Regions from separate parts of the Homo sapiens genome. Here regions 2, 3 and 4 are each linked to region 1. The links are contacts of gene promoters, found by promoter capture Hi-C in blood cells and fetal thymus (Javierre and others, 2016). All regions are on one chromosome and are shown on one strand. Each heading gives the region's core, a stretch centred on a gene start or on the middle of the fragment in contact. The rest is flanking DNA. Distances are from core to core; before and after follow the strand shown.

Region 1 (4,590 bases), core at 2,091-4,590:
CTTACAAAGGCTTCCCATTGTAGTCCTGTACTGGCCTTGTTCAATCCTGTTTCTAAAACTTTGCTCTTTTAAGTTACATATCTTCCTCAATGCCTTCAAATACACTTGCTTATAATCCTTCCAAGCTGAAGTTCATATTTGATCTCCCACAGAAGCCCTCTCCAACTTTAGCCCACACAGATGACTCTATTCAAAAAAATCAACAAAACTTCCAATTTTTACTCCATCCAATAAACACTGCTTGTTAAGCATCTGTGCTAGGCACTGTGCTATGCCTTGGAAACATGAAAAAACAGAGAGCTTAGGTAGTAAGGAAATTCACTTGTCAGTCCTTATGGATGCATTTAGGAAAAAAAGGATTCTGTCTAGTATCTAACCCTGAGTCAGTCATTGATCTACTACTTCCCTATGCTATATTTCACTCTACCCCACCCAGCTCAGTCATGGTTAAGCTGTTGATTACCTCCTGGAACTACTGGGTTACAGCTCCGCAGGACACAATGTTGCTATTCCTACCAGACATTAGTGGCAGGGTGCATCTAGCCACAGGGTAGCACATTTCTCAAAGTCTGAGTTATAATCAATCCAGAATAACACTAAGAGGTGTGTATATGTGCTGGTGGTGTGAACTTTGGCTAAGCCTCAGCTGAATGATCTAGGGTATTCTTTGGCATGCCAAGCCTGCTCCCTTTCATGATCTCTTTGCCTGTGTGAGGTGCAGAGATTGGTCTTCACAAATTTGGGTCCAGCCAATCAGAAACTAGGGAATCAAACCCACACACGTCCCTCAAGGACAAATAGTAAGAATTAAAATATTTTAAATCCTTGTTGTGACTTTCCCAATTACAAATTTTCTGGGAGCAACAGCTGTCCTGCAATGTCAATTTTCCATTTTTTCATGTTTGCTTCAGACTCTGCCCTCTTGATGCTTAAATTGGGTCCTATTACAACTCTACCATTTAAGGATCGGTACATAGATATGCTAAAAACTGGTAGAAAGTATGAAATTATATAATTTTAAAAGTGTATAGTCAGGGTTTAGTCAAATTCTTGAGCAGGGTGAACTGAAGGGTATTCTTCTGTAATTGCTAAATAAGGAAGGGAGGTAGTATAAGCCATTATTATCCACAGTTCAAATTATTTCTCAAGGGTGGAGGTGGGGGTTACTCTGTCAGGTACATTTGCAGAGAAATAAATATAGTACAACATAATTGTTATAAAAATAAGTCCCAAAAGGGATGACAATTTTGTCTCAGAAAGTTATGAAAAGATCCATGGAGATAAGCATTCGAGAGAGAACCAAAGGATCTTGAGAGAACCAAGAACATAGAAAGCAAGGACTTTAGAAAGATTAATGTGGAGGAACTGGAGGAAGAATGGCGATGAGTTTAACAGTGTGATCATGAAAGGCCCTGCCGGTGGGTAATGAAAAATTCTTAGCAGAGAAGTATAATGATCGTATTTTCACGTTAGAAAAATTATTAATAGAATGGAGGTTGGACTGGTGTGGGAAATAACTAGAGGATATCTTGTGAATATTGCAATAGTACAAGGAAGATGAGTCATAAGAGATGGTGATTACTTGAAGGACTAAGACAGTGAGAGTGGAGGGGTGGACCTGAGAGATACTTAAGGAAATAAGAGTCAAAATTTGATATTAGAAAAGAGGAAATGAAGGAAAAGTAACAGGGGTACTCATAGATTTCTGACTTGGGCAGTTGCGTGTCATTTTCTGAAACAGGGAATGGAAATGGTGTAGGTTCCAGATGGGTGAAGAGGGACATGGCATCAGGAACAGATTATAGTAAAGATGTCCATGTCAATTTGGGACATATTTAAGATACTGTGTGAAATCCAAAGGATGTTGCTTAAAAATGTCCGACGTATAGATATACACCTGAGAGTTCTTGGTGCACAGGACACGTGGTAGGTAAATCCATGATGGGAAAGAGACTGCTCAAGGAGACATGGATTAACATTAAACAGAAACAGCAAAAGAAAATGGAGTGCTGGCGAACAGAGACCACGCAGCGGAAAAACAGTATTTAAAGTGCACCAGAAAAGTAGCTGCAGAATGAGGAGAAAATGACATTAGAGAAACGGAGGGAAGAGTTAATGGTGTGCTCTTATTGTTTTAAAAATGCAGAGTAGGATCTTTTTTTCCCCCACCCCTCCCAAAGTTTTTAATATTTTGAGGGCAGAAACCACGGCTTTATTTCATCCTATTTCTGACAGTGCCTAGTTCAGTAAAGGGAACATAGTAAATGCTCAATAAATTCTTAATGATTCAGCCTCAGACATTACAAACGGGTCCTATTTGTCTCCTGTATCAACGACCAATATTTCTTCCCCCTCTTTCTTCAAATAAACTTTTAGAAGTGCCTCTGGGTTTACTGAAATCCATTTTTACAATTAGTATGTTCAACTTACACCAGCTTTGGAATGAGTTCCAAAACCTTCTTTATTTACTTGAGAGATATTCGGTATCAGTGACGATGGGTTTTTCCTTTACTACTATTCCTAAGAAAGGTTTATTCAAAATCAAAGTTTAGCCCAATTCCCAGCAGTACCTTTTAACTTAAAACCTGTTCGAAAGCACGGCAAAGAGGCGGACAGACTTTTCTGACAATCATTAACCAGGTCAACAGACTTATTAAAGCTATCTAATTAAAGGCAAGAAACAACTGCTTGGGGAATACACATTCACGCCACAGGAAGCCATTTAACTGCAAATAGATCGTCTAACGACTCACGGAAATCTAAAGGAAACTGCGTGTCCGCATGGGGTTCTGATGCCAAACTACGGATTGTTCTCTCAGGTAACACCTAACCTAAGTGAAGTCCTTGGTGGATCCGCGTTCTTGAGCTTAGAAAATACCGAATGAACTACCAAGAGCACCAGAATAATCGCCTCCTCCTGAAGAACTAGCCTCTTTCTCACCACACCAGACAGCACGTCCTACAACCACCTTTCCCCCAACAACCAAACTCCAGCGCCAAGCTGCCGCTTTTGCAGAAATGTTCTATCTCTTGGTCTCGCGCGATCTCGCGCCTCCGAGGAAGCCAACTGTATCGCGCACGCCATCAAATCCCCGCGGGAATAGAATTCCGCAGGTCCAGAAAGCCGGGAAATCGCGAGCGGAGGCGGAGTTACCTCGGTGAGCGTGAAGGCGGAGCCCGCTCCGAGGGGCGGGCTCGAGGCGGGGAGAGGGGCGGGGCTCCAGGGACCTGTTGATCGCAGGTGTCACTGGCCTGACTGGTCCCTGGGTATTGGGGCGTATGCGCATGCTCCGCTCACAGGGTCGGGCTCTGGGCGGCGGAGACCAGCCGCCTGTGCTCCAGTTCCCGGTGAGCCTCGGTACTGTGGCAGCAGTCAGTGTGTCTGGCGGGTGTCGGCGTGAAGCGGGGCTGGGCCAGCGGGAGGTAGCTCTGTGGGAGTGGAAGGCCTGTATTTCTCTACCTGGACCGCACGCTCCTCGCGCAAGGAGGGTAGAGCTCAAGGTAAGTCTCCGAAACTAGCCCTCTGGTTGGAGATCCAGAGACCTGCGACCCCCGCGGGCCTGACCGGGACACTCTCATTCTAGCCCCAGAGCTCGTCTCTCCCCTCGCAGCCCGGCGACCTCCTATGGCCCCGGCCCTCTGGGCACACACACACTCTCTTTGCTGGGCGGTTCAGACGCCAGAGGTCACGCAGCCCTTTCGCCCCTTCTCGCCGCGTCTGGCGGAGATGCCTCTGGCCAGGCTGGAGGCGCTCGCGAGGCGGGAGGAGGTGCTGTACTTGTTGGGTCCTGGATGTTATTGCTGCCGTGTTTGAGGGCGGCGACAAGCTGGAGTCCTGCTGGGATTGTGAGTAATACCCTTACTTGGCTCCTGCCCCTGGCTGTCCAAGCCACATTGCCTCGCCTGAGCACACAGTTTTTTACTTAAAGGGGTCCAGGATGGTTATGCTCCCTCCTTGGAGAAGAGAGATGACTGGACTCGTGAGATTCTTGGGGTGGTGGTTTCTCAGTGGTAGTGGTGATGTATATAAAGTTAATGTTTAGCTTCTAAAGGGCGGCTTACGGGGCATTTACCAAACTATTTTTAAACAGTGTTGGAGAACAGGAAGTACTTGCACAGGTGTAATAGGGAGGGTTTCTAAAACCTGCAATCTGAGGATGTTTTGAGGTTTGTAACCCTGCTACAAGGTTTTCTTTATCAATGCAAAGTATGCAGGGAATTACCAGTTGGACAGCAAAGTTTTCCGAAAGTTTCCTTATCTGGAAATAGATATATATATATATATATATGTGTGTGTGTGTATGTATGTATGTATAAATATATATATTTGCAAAGAATATCTAAGGCTATTTTTGAGGTAGGTTTAATAGTAAACTTAACCTGTAGTCCCAGCTACTCGGGAGGCTGAGGCAGGAGAATTGCTTGAACCGGAGGTTGCAGTGAGCCGAGATCGCGCCACTGCATTCCAGCAGGGGCGACAGAGCCAGACTCCGTCTCCAAAAAACAAACAAACAAACAAAAAAACGCAGTACACTTAGGAAGGTTTTTGTGATTAAGATCTGATTCACTTTTAGTTATTAAAAGAAAAGG
Region 2 (5,174 bases), core at 313-2,812, 520 kb before region 1:
CAGCCTCCCAAAGTGCTGAGATTACAGGCGTGAGCCACCGCTCCAGGCCCTGTATACCTTCTTTTTCTATAATCGATATTACTATTTTTTTGTTTGTTTCTTTTTGGCTCCAGTTTGGTATTATGCCTATTCTTGCATTTTAGACAGATTTATTGAGATAATACTTACATACTGTACAATTCACTCAAAAGAGTTTTTTTTTAATGTATCCACAGAATTGTGCAACTATTTTCACAATCTATACTAGAACATTTGCATCTCCCCTAAGGAAGCCCTGTACCCATTAGCAGTCAGTCCCCATTTCCTCTCTCTCATCTACCCCTTCTCAGCCTTAAGTATCTGCTGATCTACTTTCTATTTCTATACGTTTGCCTATTTTGGACATTTCTTGTAAATGAAATTATACAATGTGTGGTGGTTTGTCACTGGCTTCTTTCACTTAGCATATTTTTAAGGGTCATCGATGTTGAAGCATGTGCCTGTACTTCATGTTTTTAAATTGCCAAGTAATATGCTATTGTATATGTTTACCTTTCTGACAACTACTCTCTTGTGTTTCCAAGCAGCTGCACGATTTTACATTTTTACTAACAACGTATGATGGTTCCAATTTCTTCACATCTTTGGCACTTACTATTATCTGTTTTTTATTGTAGCCATCCTAGAAAGTGTGAAGTAGTATTTTACTGTGGTTTTGATTTGCATTTGCCTAGTGACTAATGATATTGAGCATCTTTTTTTATGCTTATTGGCCATTTAAATATCTTTTTTAGAGAAATATCCTAATACTTTGTGTATTTTTAAATTATTTCACTGTCTTTTTACTATTGAATAACAAGAGTCTTTTATATATTCTCTTTGTGTGTGGGTGTGGGTGTGTATTTTTTACATATTCTGAGTACAAGTCTCTTAACCTGATGAATAATTTGCGAATATTTTCTCGCATTCTGTGGGTGACTTTCTTGATAGTATATTTTGTAGCACAAACATTCTATTTTTGATATAATCAAATTTAGTTTTTCCTTTGTTACTTGTAAGCAACATTTCTCTTGAAGTAGAGAAACTAATTTTAATGTTTTTATAAGCAAAATGTAGATGTAGCATAAAAATTTATGGTTAAATTGTATAACCAGATTTAGATATAAACTGCTCTGCTCTTAGGATACCTGCCTCCCCAAGGCAAAGAAAACATACTTAGAAAACTATTACAGATTGAGGAAAAGTTGTACCTTCTGTTTTATAGGTGATTAGAAGCTGACTCTGCTGTCTTGAAATTTGACTATAATAAAATCTTCAAATTCATTAATTGAAATGTGATCTGCAACCACTGACTGAGGAAGCTTTACAAAATCATTTTCTTTTTTTCTTTGATATTAAAGTTACTAATATTTGTACTTTTGGTTTTTAAATTAGGAAGTTCATATAATTTATGTTGTTATAAATGTGCTTCCTGTTTGGGAAGAAAAGAAACACTCATTTTCTTTGCTTTGAATAACTATCCAAGAAATTAAGTAAAAATCTTAACAATCAGGTTCTTTAGGATAAGGATTTTTTTTTTTTTTTTAGCTAAGAGGAAGGGGGAAAAGAATCACACAAGAAAGGTAGTTGTTTTTTTTTTTTTTTCCTGAATGTTAAACTGGATGCTAGGGGTAATGGTTTAACTTAATAAATATGTGATATTAAGTGGCTTATTGACTTGGACTGGGTTTTAGAACATCTGGGTTTTTACTTGCATGTCATTAGTTATGAAATCTGCATACATATTATTTAAAATTATTAGAAGTTAAGCTTCCTTAAAAGATATGAGTCAAGTGGCATGTGTATTATTTTGTTTTCTTGGGAGGGCTCATAACTTTTGAATTACTGATATTAACTTCAGTTGAGATGAATTCAGAATTTACTATTTTTTCTGCTCAGGTTTAGCTGACAGATTTGAAGAATATCCTAAACTGAGGGAGCTCATCAGGCTAAAGGATGAGTTAATAGCTAAATCTAACACTCCTCCCATGTAAGTGTTTTTATTCAATTACTGTTTATTCCCAACTCAGGCTTAAAGTATCAGTTTGTTTATCCTATAACCTTTTTTCTTCTTCCTAAATTCAGCACTTATGTTAACATGCTTTATTACTCTGTTTCTTCTCTCTGCCTTTTTGTTTTTTAAAGGCTGGTGCTCATTATGTTGCCCAGGCTTGTGTCCATCTCCTGGGCTCAAGCAATCCTCCCACCTCACCTGGACTACAGGCATTTCAGCCATCACTCCTGGCTCTATTTTTCTTTCTTTCTTTTTTTGTTTTGAGATGGAGTCTTGCTCTGTTGTCCAGGCTAGAGTGTGGAGTGTAGTGGCGCAATCTTGGCTCACTGCAGCCTCCGCCCCCTGGGTTCAAGTGATTCTCATGCCTCAGCCTTCTGAAGAGCTAGGATTACAGGCACGCACCACCATGCCTGGCTAATTTTTGGCACACACCACCATGCCTGGCTAATTTTTGTATTTTTAGTAGAGACGGGGTTTCACCATGTTGCTCAGGCTGGTCTCAAACTCCTGACCTTGGGTGATTTGCCCCCCTCAACCTCAAAATGCTGGGATTACAGGCATGAGCCAGCGTACTGAGCCCTATTTCTTCGTTATAGCAAAAATGTTAATTTGAAGCTCTGGTGCTGAGTTCAGAGGGGGCTCTCAGTTTTTTTTCAGCTTTTCAGATAATTTGCTTAAAGTGCCTCTAAATATTTTTTCTTCTTAAAAGTCATCCAAGTCGGGCATGGTGGCTCACCCCTCTAATCCCAGCACATTGGGAGGCTGAGGCAGGTGGATCACCTGAGGTCAGGAGTTTGAGACCAGCCTGCCCAACATGCTGAAACCCTGTCTCTACTAAAAATACAAAAATTAGCTGGGCATGGTGGTGCACGCCTGTAATCCCAGCTACTCGAGAGGCTGAGGCAGTAGAATCGTTTGAATCTAGGAGGCAGAGGTTGCAGTGAGCCGAGATCGCACCATTGCACTTTAGCCTGGGTGACGGAGTGAGACTCCGTATTCTTGATAGCTTACTTAAAATGCCTTTAAATGACTTCTTGTCAAGTAATTTGTTTGTTAAAGGAAGCTTAGAAAACTTAGAGTCAGGAAAGGAAGAAAACAAATATTAATTACAGCTTAGCATTCTGAGATACTATTCTTAACAATTTGGAATATGATAATTCATTTCAACCGTTGCTAAGCAGAATAATGTTTTCCTCAGAAATGTATATGAGATCTTTGAAATTGGAGAATTTAGCTTTGAAGGTTTTGTACATTTAATGATATGATAAAATGTATTTTGGGCCGGGTGCGGTGGCTCACACCTATAATCCCAGCACTTTGGGAGGCTGAGGTGGGCGGATCATTAGATCAAGAGATCAAGACCGTCTTGGCCAACATGGTGAAACCTTGTCTCTATTAAAAATACAAAAATTAGCTGGGTGTGGTGGCGCACACCTGTAGTCCCAGCTATTCGGGAGGCAGAGGCTGAGGCAGAAGAGGTGGAGTTTGAACCCAGGAGGTGGAGTTTGCAGTGAGCCGAGATTGTGCCACTGCACTCCAGCCTGGCAACAGAGTGAGACTCTGTCTCAAAAAAAAAAAAAAAAAAAAAAAAAAAATTGTATTCTGTAAGTCATTAGAAGCACCACAGAATGTTTTAGTATGTGGAGAGGAAGTCTAAGTATACTCTAATATTCATCGTATTTTAAAATACACCTTTACTTTCTTGCTTATTTACTTATTTATTTATTTAAATAGAGACAGGGTCTCACTGTCTCTATTTTGAGACCAGGCTGGTCTCAAACTCCTGGGGTCAATTGATCCTCCCACGCTGGCCTCCCAAAGTGTTGGTATTATAGGCATGAGCCACCATGCCTGGCCTAAAATACACCTTTAATGAGATGTTAAGGTGGGAAGATCACTTGAGCCCAGGAGTTTGAGATTGTAGTACTGTATAATCAGGCCTGTGAATAGCCACTGCATTCAGCCTGAGCAATATAGTGAGACCTTGTCTCAAACAAACAAACAAACAAACAAACGAAAACCCATTTACATTTAAAGTATTTTAAATTTAAAATATTTTCATGCTATGTGACAATAACTTTTCAGTAAAGGCCAGTAATAACTTATATTAGGTAGCATGAAAAGACTCTTAATAGAAACATTTTTACTAATGAAAAAACTAATAAAAGAAAACTATATGAAAACTATGTTTTGGGGGAAGAATTTAAAGCTTACAGAGAAATGGGTTTTCTAACTGAACAATTGAGAATAAAACAATGTGATATTCCTTAGAAAATTCAGATGAGAAGGGAAAGGGGTTCAGAGACACATCTGAGTATGGATTTTTAATATTGAGAGAAGAATATATTCTGGGTGTACATGGGGAAAATAGGACTTTTACTATGTAGTTTAATTACGTTCATGTCTTAAGAAAGATCACTGGTAGATCGTTTAAGTCTATACTGAAGAAAAAAAGACTCAATAAAAAGGCCTTTAGTAATTAGGTTACTGATTACTTTGTAAATAGTGTTTAGTAATAATGTTTAGTGATATCTAAGACATTTCTTTCATTACCATCTGTTAAGGTACTTGAAAATCTTATTTAAAAAGCATTTTTTTAAAAACCTCATTTTTAATGCTTTAATCAAATAGGTACTTACAAGCCGATATAGAAGCCTTTGACATCAGAGAACTAACACCCAAATTTGATGTGATTCTTCTGGAACCCCCTTTAGAAGAATATTACAGAGAAACTGGCATCACTGCTAATGAAAAATGCTGGACTTGGGATGATGTATGATCAAACTTTCTACATTGTAATGAATTATTTATTTTCAAATGAATATGTTTATTTGGTCAGAAAGTGAGATAATAAATATCATCCCTACTTTTGTAGGGATTATAAATGTAGATTTATAGTGTAAATTATAGCTGAAGGTCCAAGGTACATTGACTAATATTACATTATCTTTAATTTGAGCCTTCTTTTCAAGGCAAAAATTGAGCAGATAGCAAGTGAATAGGCTGTAGAAGACTTAAAATTTTGGTCTTAGAGTCCTTGGCTATATAGTTAGAGAAGTTTAAAAACAGATGGAATGATTCATAATTCATTCTGCATTTGATTAGTTTCAGTAAACATCAGAGCTTGTTTATGTATATAAAA
Region 3 (4,755 bases), core at 1,197-3,696, 860 kb after region 1:
TCCACACTTACAATGCTTGCCTGCCTGACTTAGGAAAAAGATCAGGAGTGTGGGAAAGGCAGGTCATAGTTCTACTTATGCCCCAAGTACACTTGCCTGTACCTCCTGGGAGACTGGAACTTGTAGGGAGATTATTTGAAGCAATCTGGAAATGTGAATGCACCTTTCTCTTCTCTTTCTCAAAGGTCTTGTTTTCCAAAATAGTGTGTACTATCAGTAACAGAAAAAGTTATGAATATACTTATGTAAATGTTGGTTATTTATCTCTAAATTATAAACATTTTCCACAGTGTTAGGTATAGCATATGTGTTTAAATCATACCAGTTGTTCGAAATTAAGAAAGATGAGAAATACTTTTAAAATAATTCTGTTTATATTATTAGAAAATAAATTATTTTTACTTTCACTAAATATATTAATAACCATATTAAGATTTTTGCAGTGAATATGTTTCATTGCTTTTAAAAATCATGGTTTAATTATTTTTGAAAGAGTGGTTTACAAGTCTAATAATTCAGCTTATTTTAATAGTTTTTTTGTTTGTTTTGGGGGGTTTGTGTTTTTTGGCCAGCAGAGCTAAAAGAGATACACCACAAAGATATGAAGGTCCAAATGGAAGAAAGTACATTGTTGACTTCTTATTCTTTTTATTTACCTGTATTAGCAATTATGCAAAGTTTTTGCTGAAAAGGGATTATTAAATTTCAATTTAATGGTACCAATTAGGTGTTCTTACAAGCTGGTTAAAAAGTGACATATGATATTTTAATAATTTTAATGAATGTGTTCAAAAACAATGGTTTAAGCAGTTTTTTAACCCTTTTTTTTTTAAAAAAATATCAAAACAATACCTTCCTATTAGTTTGGGAACTAATTAAATGCATTGTTTGACCTTTTAGTTAGTTTTGGAACTAATTTGTAATTTAGAAAAATTATAGTTTAGAGAACTCTGTTTCCAAACTTTTCAATTGTACAGATGAGACTTTTTTAAAAAATAGTTTATCCAGGCCAGGTGCGGTGGCTCATGCCTGTAATCCCAGCACTTTGGGAGGCTGAGGAGGGCGGATGACGAGGTCAGGAGATTGAGACCATCCTGGCTAACACAGTGAAACCCTGTAAAAAAAAAAAAAATACAAAAAATTAGCCGGGTGTGGTGGCGGGCACCTGTAGTCCCAGCTACTCAGGAGGCTGAGGCAGGAGAATGGCATGAACCCGGGAGCTGGAGCTTGCAGTGAGCTGAGATCGTGCCACTGCATTCCAACCTGGGTGACAGAGCGAGACTCCATCTCAAAAAAAAAAAAAAGTTTATTCAAACGTGCTCCTTCCATAACATGAGTGTCTTTTGAAAAACGGAATGGAAGAATGTTAATTTTTCTGAAGTTCTTGTTAGCACAGTACTGCAAAGAGAAAGAGCCAGTAAATCTGGCACAGCTGACTTGCATTTCCTCAGGGTACCAATCATGGCCTATGACTCCCTTTTTTTTCTAAATTTTTAAAACTGACAAATAATAATTGTACATATTTACAGGGTGCATAGTGATGTTGTGGTCTATACAATGTATAGTGATCAGATCAGGGTAATCAGCCTATCTATCATCTTAAACATTTATAATTTCTTTGTGTTTCAAACATTCAATATCCCCATTCTAGCTATTTTAAACTATTATTAACTTGTAGGATGTAGTCATCCTACAAGTGCTGTAGAACACTAGAACTTACTCTTATCTAGCTGTAATTTTGTTTCCTTTAACAAATCTCTCTGTCCTCTCTTTCCGCCTACCCTTCCCAGCCTCTAGTATTCTCTGTTGTACTTTTTACTTCTGTGGGATCAACTTTTTTAACTTCCACATATGAGTAAGAACGTGACCTTCTGACATGGAGACTGTGTGAGTGTGCAATGTCAGTCCATTTTTTGAAATCCATTTTTTTAGTAAAGCTTATTTTCCTAGGTTAAAACATAAATTAAATAGAAGTTGTAACATTCCTTCCTATACTCCCAAAAGGATTGTTTTTTGCATATATTCCACTTTGGAAGCCACTGATTTTGAGGATGTTTGCAGAAACCTTATTGATTAGGGGATGAGGCACCTGAGTTGGGAATAGTAGTGTTCCGTGCTTGTCCTCTCTTCTAGGTAAATATGGAATAGACCTAGTTAGGATGGCTGACCTGCATGCCTATGTGGAAATTTGAAGTATCATTCTTTTTTTTTTTTTTTTTTTTCTGAGACAGAGTCTTGCTCTTTCACCCAGGCTGGAGCGTGGTGGCACCATCTCAGCTCACTGCAATCATCGCCTCTCAGGTTCAAGTGATCCTTATTCCTCAGCCTCCTGTGTAGCTGGGATTACATGCATGCACCATCACACCCAGCTAATTGTTGTATTTTTTAGTGGAGACAAGGTTTCGATGGTCTTGCACTCCTGGCCTCAAGTGATTCACCCACCTTGACCTCCCAAAGTGCTGGGATTACAAGTGTGAGCCGCCATGCCCGGCGTGAGCTATCATTCTTTATAATGGACTTTGCAGAACAATCCTGTAAGGAAAATACATTCTTATTGGGAAGGAGTGCTCCAGACTCTTGAACCCCATCTATTTACCACTGCCCAAAGCACAGAATAAAAGCCATCTTAGGGGTTTCAACAAATCCTGTCATAAAAGTCCACTTAGATCACATAAAAAAAAAAAACTTTATTACTGGTTGCATAATGAGGGAGTGTCATGGTCTTGTCTAAAAGAAGCAGGAATCTCCAAGCAATCTACCAACAGCAGAGATCACATGCAGATATGTCAAAAAAAGATGTTAGCCTAGCATGTTCCAGAGAAACTTCTTAGAAGCAGACTATCTGGACAATTTAAGAAGAATTATATAGGAGTTATTTTCCTTATCGGTAAAATGGATGTAACAATAGTACTTGTCACATATAATTTTTCTGAGTATTACATGAGATAATTTAAATGAAGCTTTGGCTTAATGCTAATATGTTATTGTTATTGTTTTATTATTATATTGTTACTGTTGTTGTTAATAAGACAGCTTTTCACCACTTTTCCACGCACCTTTCCTGGGTTGGTACATGTTTAGTTTAGCATAACTAAAGGAGGCTTTAGATAATACAACTTAAGGCACAGATGAGATAGAAACTCTTATAACATATATAATAATGATAGCCAACATTATTAACCACATACTATCTGCCAGGCACATTTCTATGTGCTTTACAAGAATCATTTTATTTAATCCCTCATTAGCTCAAGAGTTAGATACTACTATTACCTGAATTAAGTTACAGAAGGAAGTTGAATAATTTAGCTAAGGTCACCCAGCTAGGAGAACTGGAGTCAAATCCAAGCAATCTAGATGGTACCAGAATATGAATCCTGAAAGCATCAAAGATCTGACTATATTTTAGATAACTCTAATTTGAGGCAAACTATAGTGGGTCCTTAATATTCCTCCATCCTTGCTATGTAACTCCTGAGACCCATTCAGCAATGGAAACCAATGGAGCTGAATGGCTGGAAAGTCACAGAATTGGAACAAGGAAAATAATCCAAAAGTGGAAGAAAAGAGTCCAAAACTGGAGGAAAAGAAACAAGAGGTAGGATCCAGGGTGCAATACTGGCTCATCTGGCTAAGAGTGGATGGCCAAAAGGGGTACCCTGACTAGGGCTGCAAAAACAGGAATTTTTTAAAAATTTTGTGCTTAAAAGATCTTGTCAATTTTCTACTTAAAAGATCTTCAGTGAACTAAGAGGAGGCATTAAACAAATATTCTGGCCAAGGGATAGAATGGCATTTGAAATAGCCTACTCTTTGTCCTGCCAATTTTATTGATAGCTCAGACAAAAGGAAATGAGAATATGCAATACAGCAGGAATGTAAAAAGATGACAAATTTGAGAGACATTTTAAAAATGTGTTGAGATGTGTTTGGTTGTACTCTGAAGAACAGCCTGGGTTTTGGGGGATCATGGTGTGGAGCTGTTATACATGGAGATGATATAGATAAGTTTGTGGCATTCGATTCATTTTCCTTCAAGTGGTTTTAGGCCAGGCAAAAAAAAAAAATTTTTTTTGAGGTAATAGCTAATAAAATGACACATTGAGGAAGAAGAGGCAGTGAAGGAAACTCAGAAGAAATGGAAAAGTAGGAGGCAAATTGTGAGAGGAATGTCAGAACCTATTTAGTGAATTTGGATTAGGTAGAAAAATACTATTTTAGTAGTTTAGTAAATAATTCAGCACAAATAAGAATGACTGAGGAAGAGTCACAGATTTTGTACTTGAAAGATTTTTGGTGAACTAAGAGGAGACAATTTGGGTCACACGGTAGGGTATAAAAGTCTTTTACAAGGAGTTTGGAAGTAAGGCTAAGAAGATAGAAGTAAAAGGTTTGCAAGAGAAATGGAGAGTGGAGAAACCACATAAGCAATTGCTGGATCTTGGGAATTTTATGTTTAGGATATTTAGAGGAAAGAGAGCAAAAGAAATATAAATACTGAAGTTGAAAGTTGGAAAGGCCTAACTAATAGAGCCAGACACCTGAGGCCACAGAAAGCAATGGCATCAAGGACCCAAGTAGAGAATAAACAGAAGAGACAATTCCCTCTTAGAAATTGAAAACAAGGAAGAAGGGAGATGTGAGGATGCAGATAAATTCTCATTTTTTCTTGAAATGCAAGTAAAGAATAATCTTTAGCTTCTCAGTGGAGGAGGAGGTGAGATAGGGAAGTGGAGGAAGGGAAAGATAATGTCA
Region 4 (5,183 bases), core at 1,894-4,393, 840 kb after region 1:
ACTACAGTGAGAAGAACGAAGCCTGGAACACAAAATTTTGAGGGTGAGCCCCCAAACTAACTAAATTAGATAAATAATATTTTAATGCAATAGTTTTAAAAGTCAAAATAACTGTAAAAAATACATGATGAACAAAATATGTAAATGTACCCTAAATCATACTCCTAGCTTCTGTGTACACAAGCCATGGCATCTGTCTTTTTATTAAAGGGAAAGTCCTAGTATCACAGTAGAAAACCATGCTACCAGTATTGATCACCTTTTTTCCATCATTCACATAGATTTTTAAAACTCACAAAATTTAGAAGAAATAAACAGCAAAAATGAGAACGTCCAAGTGGAGCAGATATACTAGGTGACTCCTGAAGAAAGTAGGTAATTAAGAGAACAGAAGAAAAATTGATCTTTCAACAAATATTAACATCTTCATAGTTAAGAAGCAAATGAATGGGTGGCTAGAATCAAGCACAGTAAAAAATGTTTATGTTTTATGTTTAATTTCTTGGATATTAAAGATATAGGCTAAATGAATAATTTCATAAGAAGGCTTGAAGATTGAGTTTATGGACTCCTTTTCTATCTTGTCACTTGGAACATTCATCGTTCAGTATTAATGAACTAGATTACATTTTCTCCCCTTAATAGGTAGACTCATGCTATTTGATCAATCAATAAGGGGTAATTCAATAATCAGGATAATGAAAATGCTATTTCAATTTGTAGAGTCAACAAATCAACGAAACTGGAAGACAATAATAACTATAAAAGAGAATCTAACTAGTATTAAAATTGATAATGGAAAAAACACAAAAGTCTGAATGTTAAGGTAGCAGAGAGATGTGGCCAGCAATGTCAGACACAAATTCTTGTACCTTCTATAGCAAGGAATCAACATACTAAAATTGATGTAACAAAATATAGAGCTTGAACATATTCTTTAAAATTATAAAGATAACCACCAGAAGAAAATAATATGACTAGAAAAACTCAGGAGTAGATGGATAAAGAAATACGAACTAAGTTTCTCATCTTTCAATAGATGTGACCTAAAGTTGAAAAACAACAACAAAAAAAATAGTAATATTAACATATGCTTAAAGGTATGGTGATAACCACTAACAGAACAAAACATGTTTGAAAATAAGGAGCTAGATTAGACGTGGGGAGTGGGGGAATGAAGACAGGTGGATAATTTACTCTTCACTTGGTACCATTCTGTACTGTTTGATTTTATTAACTTATGAGCATATTAATTTTACACTATAAAAGTTAAAAAAATGAAAACAAAACTTTCTGCAGCTGCAGCTCTTGGCACTATTTCTTTCCCCAGCTGCAGTCACTCTCCTCATACTCATGGTTAGGTCCAATTGAGACAGGAAGAAATTAAAGGGCAACAGAAAAAGTACCTGCCCTGAAGTTCAGGGTTTCTGGGGTCTTCTTTCAATTTACTGTGTTCTGTCTTTACAGGGGCCTAATTCTTTGGAATACTAACTTTTGACTATTTCAGTCCATCAGATCTAGAATCTCCTTAAAGCTTTGCTAAACTTTGACATCATTCTCTTATTTCTTGAGAAGAGTAAGCTTGACTCCCTGGCTCTTTCTGTGATCCTTGAGTTTTAACTTCTTTTTTTTTTTTTTTTAATTTTGACTATGGTTAACTATTGGTCAGCTGGGACCAACCTGACCTGCCCAGGTAGGAATGAAAAGCATATGGAATAGTGGTGACAATTACTATTATCTGAATAAATACAATATGATATATTATTAAGTTAAAATAGTGCTAAGGGAGTAGAGTGATGGTCACTACTCCATTCCTCATGTTTCCACAAAGGAGAGACTTCACGCTCCTAGAGAGAACGCACCTGAAGATATTTGGGAATAGAGGTTTAATCTAGACTAATCACAGTCTTGCACTGAAGTGCTAAAAGCATGAAATGCAAGACATGAAGAAATCAAAACATCTAAATTTTCTAAGAAGGAATAATGTCTCAAATGTCATTCACTGAGAAAGTAGGTAATATACATGGGGAGTTTGCCAGAAGCATTGCCACTACACCTACCACCACCACCACCACACACACACATACACACACACACACTAAACATGTGGAAGCATAATTGTTGATGGGCAGTTTCTGCTCAGTGTATATAGATTTACAGCCTGTGAACTCTTGACACTGGCACCGCTGGCTGGCCCTCCCTGGAACAGAAACCCAGCTGTTTTCAGGTCCTTCTGTCTACAACACAGGTACCATTAAGTTATCTGCCATGCTCTTTGGGTGGCGACAACCGTGTCAAAAAAGATTACACCATTCACTTAATTTGGGGACCATAATTTTGCTTGTAATAACTTACATAGTGGAGCCACAGTTTCTTTTGTGATTAGTTACCCCTTGGAGAGCTGAATTACTTAGAAATTTGAATTAATTTTGAAAAGACTGAAGAAGCTGTAACCATTCCTATGAAAGACGGCCCAGGTTATAGCTGAACTTATAGGAACCCAGAGATCAGTGTAAGACCCTCTGGCTGAGAATGAGCCAATTGTATAGAATTGGGAATGAAGGAATTTGACCTTAATTTCTATGGGCTTTTCATTTGCAAGGGAATTTAGTCTGGAGGGTTAAAAAATGAGAAGAGTTTCATATTGTTCAACTTTAGAATATTTTTATGTTGTTGATCTGGTCTTGGCATTCATGAATACATTCATGAATGTATACATGAATATAAAATGAATACATTCATTAATTCTGGACAACATGACTGAGCATAATCAGTAATAGGAAATAGAATGGGGAATACATTTTCTGCTTAGGGTGCTGCATGCAGTTCTGTCTGACTCATGTTGCTAGAGACTTTTGTTGGCAAAAAGCGAAATGCCCATTGGCAGCTCTGGAGGGAATTAGTGTGGAAAGAAGGAGGGTTTAGGAAAGTGAGAACATGACGGCCCTGTGAGCAAGCAACTTCCCTGCTGAGAGGAACAGCCCACCCTGGCTTACTTCCAAGTTGCTTAAGTCCAGTGGGTTATGACATTGTTTCCCAGCCTTCCTTCATATGTGGCCTTCGTGTCTGCATATCGCTCACACTAATACTGATATAATATTTTTCCTTAAATATTGTGTATACTTTTAAAATCTTTCGCTCAATTTTTTACTCATGATAAACAATGTTACATATTTTTCTGATTACAACATATATATTACTAAAACTTTTTAAAAAAATGCCTGTCATCATGCTACCTAAAATCAACTTACATAATGCCAGTGGAACACACACTGTAATATACCAAGAGATGAAAAAGCTGGCAAATAGCAGGAGGGATGCTTGTTACTCCACTCTTAGGGTTTCTGTTCCAATCCTGATGACAGAAAACAGCACTGGAGTAACGTTCTGGGGCCCTCTCTCCACTTTTTCTCTCAGCCCATCCCAAGCAGCAAAGAAGAAATTTTTCCATGGCTTGTAGCAGCTCGAGTACAGTGCTTTCTAATTTTGCCCTTGGCAATTCAGCATGCAAGGCTTCCTCCTAGGTTGGAGTTGGGCTGGAGAAGGAAGAATGAAGTTGTCTGGCCCTTCCACCTGTGACTACACAGGCTGCTTGGTTCACTTAAGAAGGAGTAGCAAACCCTATTTCTGACTTAAGTGTAAGGCTCATTCTCCAATCCAGCTTTACTATAGAGTGCTGTAATTTGGGTAATAATACATATAATAAATTTCAATCTTCTTCTGTTTCCTGCATCTATGTCTCAAGTTGGTTAAAACTCACAAAGTAGAAGGATCAGGATTACATGTTAAACACAAATTCCAACACACCTTTGGTTACAAAAACAAGTGAAAGAATTAGAGAAGAAATGTTGCTGGAAAGAAAATGAATGCTCCTGTTTTAAAGCAAAATGCCCTGTGTGAACATTTAATGGCAGTATTATGAAAAGTTAATGCAATATTCAAATATTTTGACTACAAGTTCTTACTTCCTCAATTTGGAGTGAGATTCACACGGTATTCTAGTCTTTTTGTAGCTAAGTCTGGAGCAGGAGAACCCTCCTCTGTCCCCTAGACTCTGAGAGGAAACAAGATATAATAAAAGGATTTGGTTCCTATTGGTTTGGGAATTGGGCCAGCACATGGATTCTGGATGTTTGCAGTTGGGCAAATTACTTAACCTTCCTGAATCTTAGTTCTTAAATCTATAAAGTGGGGATATCAATTCTCACAGGGTTGTTGCAAGGATTGAGATAATGCATGTAATGAATGAATTTGAAGACTGATCCCTTCCCTGCCCACAAACTGAGCTAAAGATGTTCTATAAAGGATTCAGACTCCCCAGTGTTTCTTCATGGTTTTGCTTTATGGGTCTCCTCTGGGGCGATGGAGGCATCAGCGGAGTTGTAGAATTTCCATTTTGGATGCAGTCCTTCTCTCCCCACCCTCTTCTCCCTCACAGCCCTAAATTGAGGTTTGGGGGCTGTTCCTTGCTCCAGAGGACTCCTCATTTGGAACTCAGACTTAATTTCCTTTATCTCATGGCTCTCCCCATGTCCCATCATCAGTTTCTAAGACCACAGCTTGTGGCCCAAGTCTTCCATTTCCCCACTAACCCCAACCTCCATTCATTTAGGAGTCAGCTGAACAGATGTAAAGCACTTCAGTGGTGCCTGGCATACAGTAGATGATCAATACCCATGAATTTCCTTTCCTAGACTTGGAGGCTGTAAGCTTTACAGCCTGTTTTTAAAGAGCTGTACTGACTCTTATGAGTGTGAACACAGTGATCCAATAACTGCATGTTAGATATGAAATATTTTGCACATCACAGACCCAATCTTTAAAACCACTAGCATCTGTACTTGGTCAGTGAGACTGCCATTTCAGAAAGAAATTCATATCCATGTCTAGGCATCCACTAGATATGTCCATATCTAGAAAGTTTTTTAAAGTGTTTGGACTCTTTCCCTTGCAAGGAAATGGACTATGGGTGGTCCAGCTTATATTTGGGATGCCTTTTTCCACACAGATAAAATTCCAAGAAAATAAGATTTTGATCTCATGTAAGTTCCTTTGTGCAAACAAGCTTGCATAGCAAAATGGTGCAGATAAATGTAGATGAAATGGGCTTTGTACAAGTAAATGTAACTATATTATGTTTCTCTGGTATAAAAATAGATCACATGGTGGAGGACAAAAATAGG

The links. Contacts are between HindIII fragments. The CHiCAGO score rates a contact against its expected background, and 5 or more counts as called.
Region 2: a fragment that was not itself captured here is called in contact with the fragment with the promoter of USP53 in region 1 in 1 of 17 cell types (fetal thymus); the score reaches 5.1 in fetal thymus.
Region 3: a contact is called between a fragment that was not itself captured here and the fragment with the promoter of USP53 in region 1, in 2 of 17 cell types (total CD8 T cells and activated CD4 T cells). The highest score is 6.5, in total CD8 T cells.
Region 4: a fragment that was not itself captured here is called in contact with the fragment with the promoter of USP53 in region 1 in 1 of 17 cell types (neutrophils); the score reaches 5.7 in neutrophils.

Annotation. Positions count from the first base shown.
Region 1 is chr4:119,209,373-119,213,962 of GRCh38, forward strand. USP53 (ubiquitin specific peptidase 53) reads left to right here and starts at 3,341. Exons shown (of 19, transcript NM_001371395.1): 1 at 3,341-3,501. LOC101929762 (a long non-coding RNA gene) reads right to left here and starts at 3,272. Exons shown (of 3, transcript NR_125931.1): 1 at 3,155-3,272. RefSeq lists enhancers at 1-1,103, 2,259-2,833, 2,956-3,075, 3,407-3,980, 3,686-3,735 and a silencer at 3,206-3,335. The HindIII fragment of the contact is 14,070 bases long and covers 1-4,590 here.
Region 2 is chr4:118,692,519-118,697,692 of GRCh38, forward strand. METTL14 (methyltransferase 14, N6-adenosine-methyltransferase non-catalytic subunit) reads left to right here. Exons shown (of 11, transcript NM_020961.4): 6 at 1,918-2,008; 7 at 4,664-4,805. Among named protein-coding and RNA genes, the nearest start is that of METTL14, 9.7 kb to the left of the region's middle. The HindIII fragment of the contact is 448 bases long and covers 1,339-1,786 here.
Region 3 is chr4:120,074,524-120,079,278 of GRCh38, forward strand. All of the region lies in intron 1 of MAD2L1-DT (MAD2L1 divergent transcript), which reads left to right. Among named protein-coding and RNA genes, the nearest start is that of MAD2L1-DT, 9.9 kb to the left of the region's middle. The HindIII fragment of the contact is 1,023 bases long and covers 1,936-2,958 here.
Region 4 is chr4:120,050,128-120,055,310 of GRCh38, forward strand. No RefSeq gene overlaps it. Among named protein-coding and RNA genes, the nearest start is that of MAD2L1, 14 kb to the right of the region's middle. The HindIII fragment of the contact is 3,129 bases long and covers 1,580-4,708 here.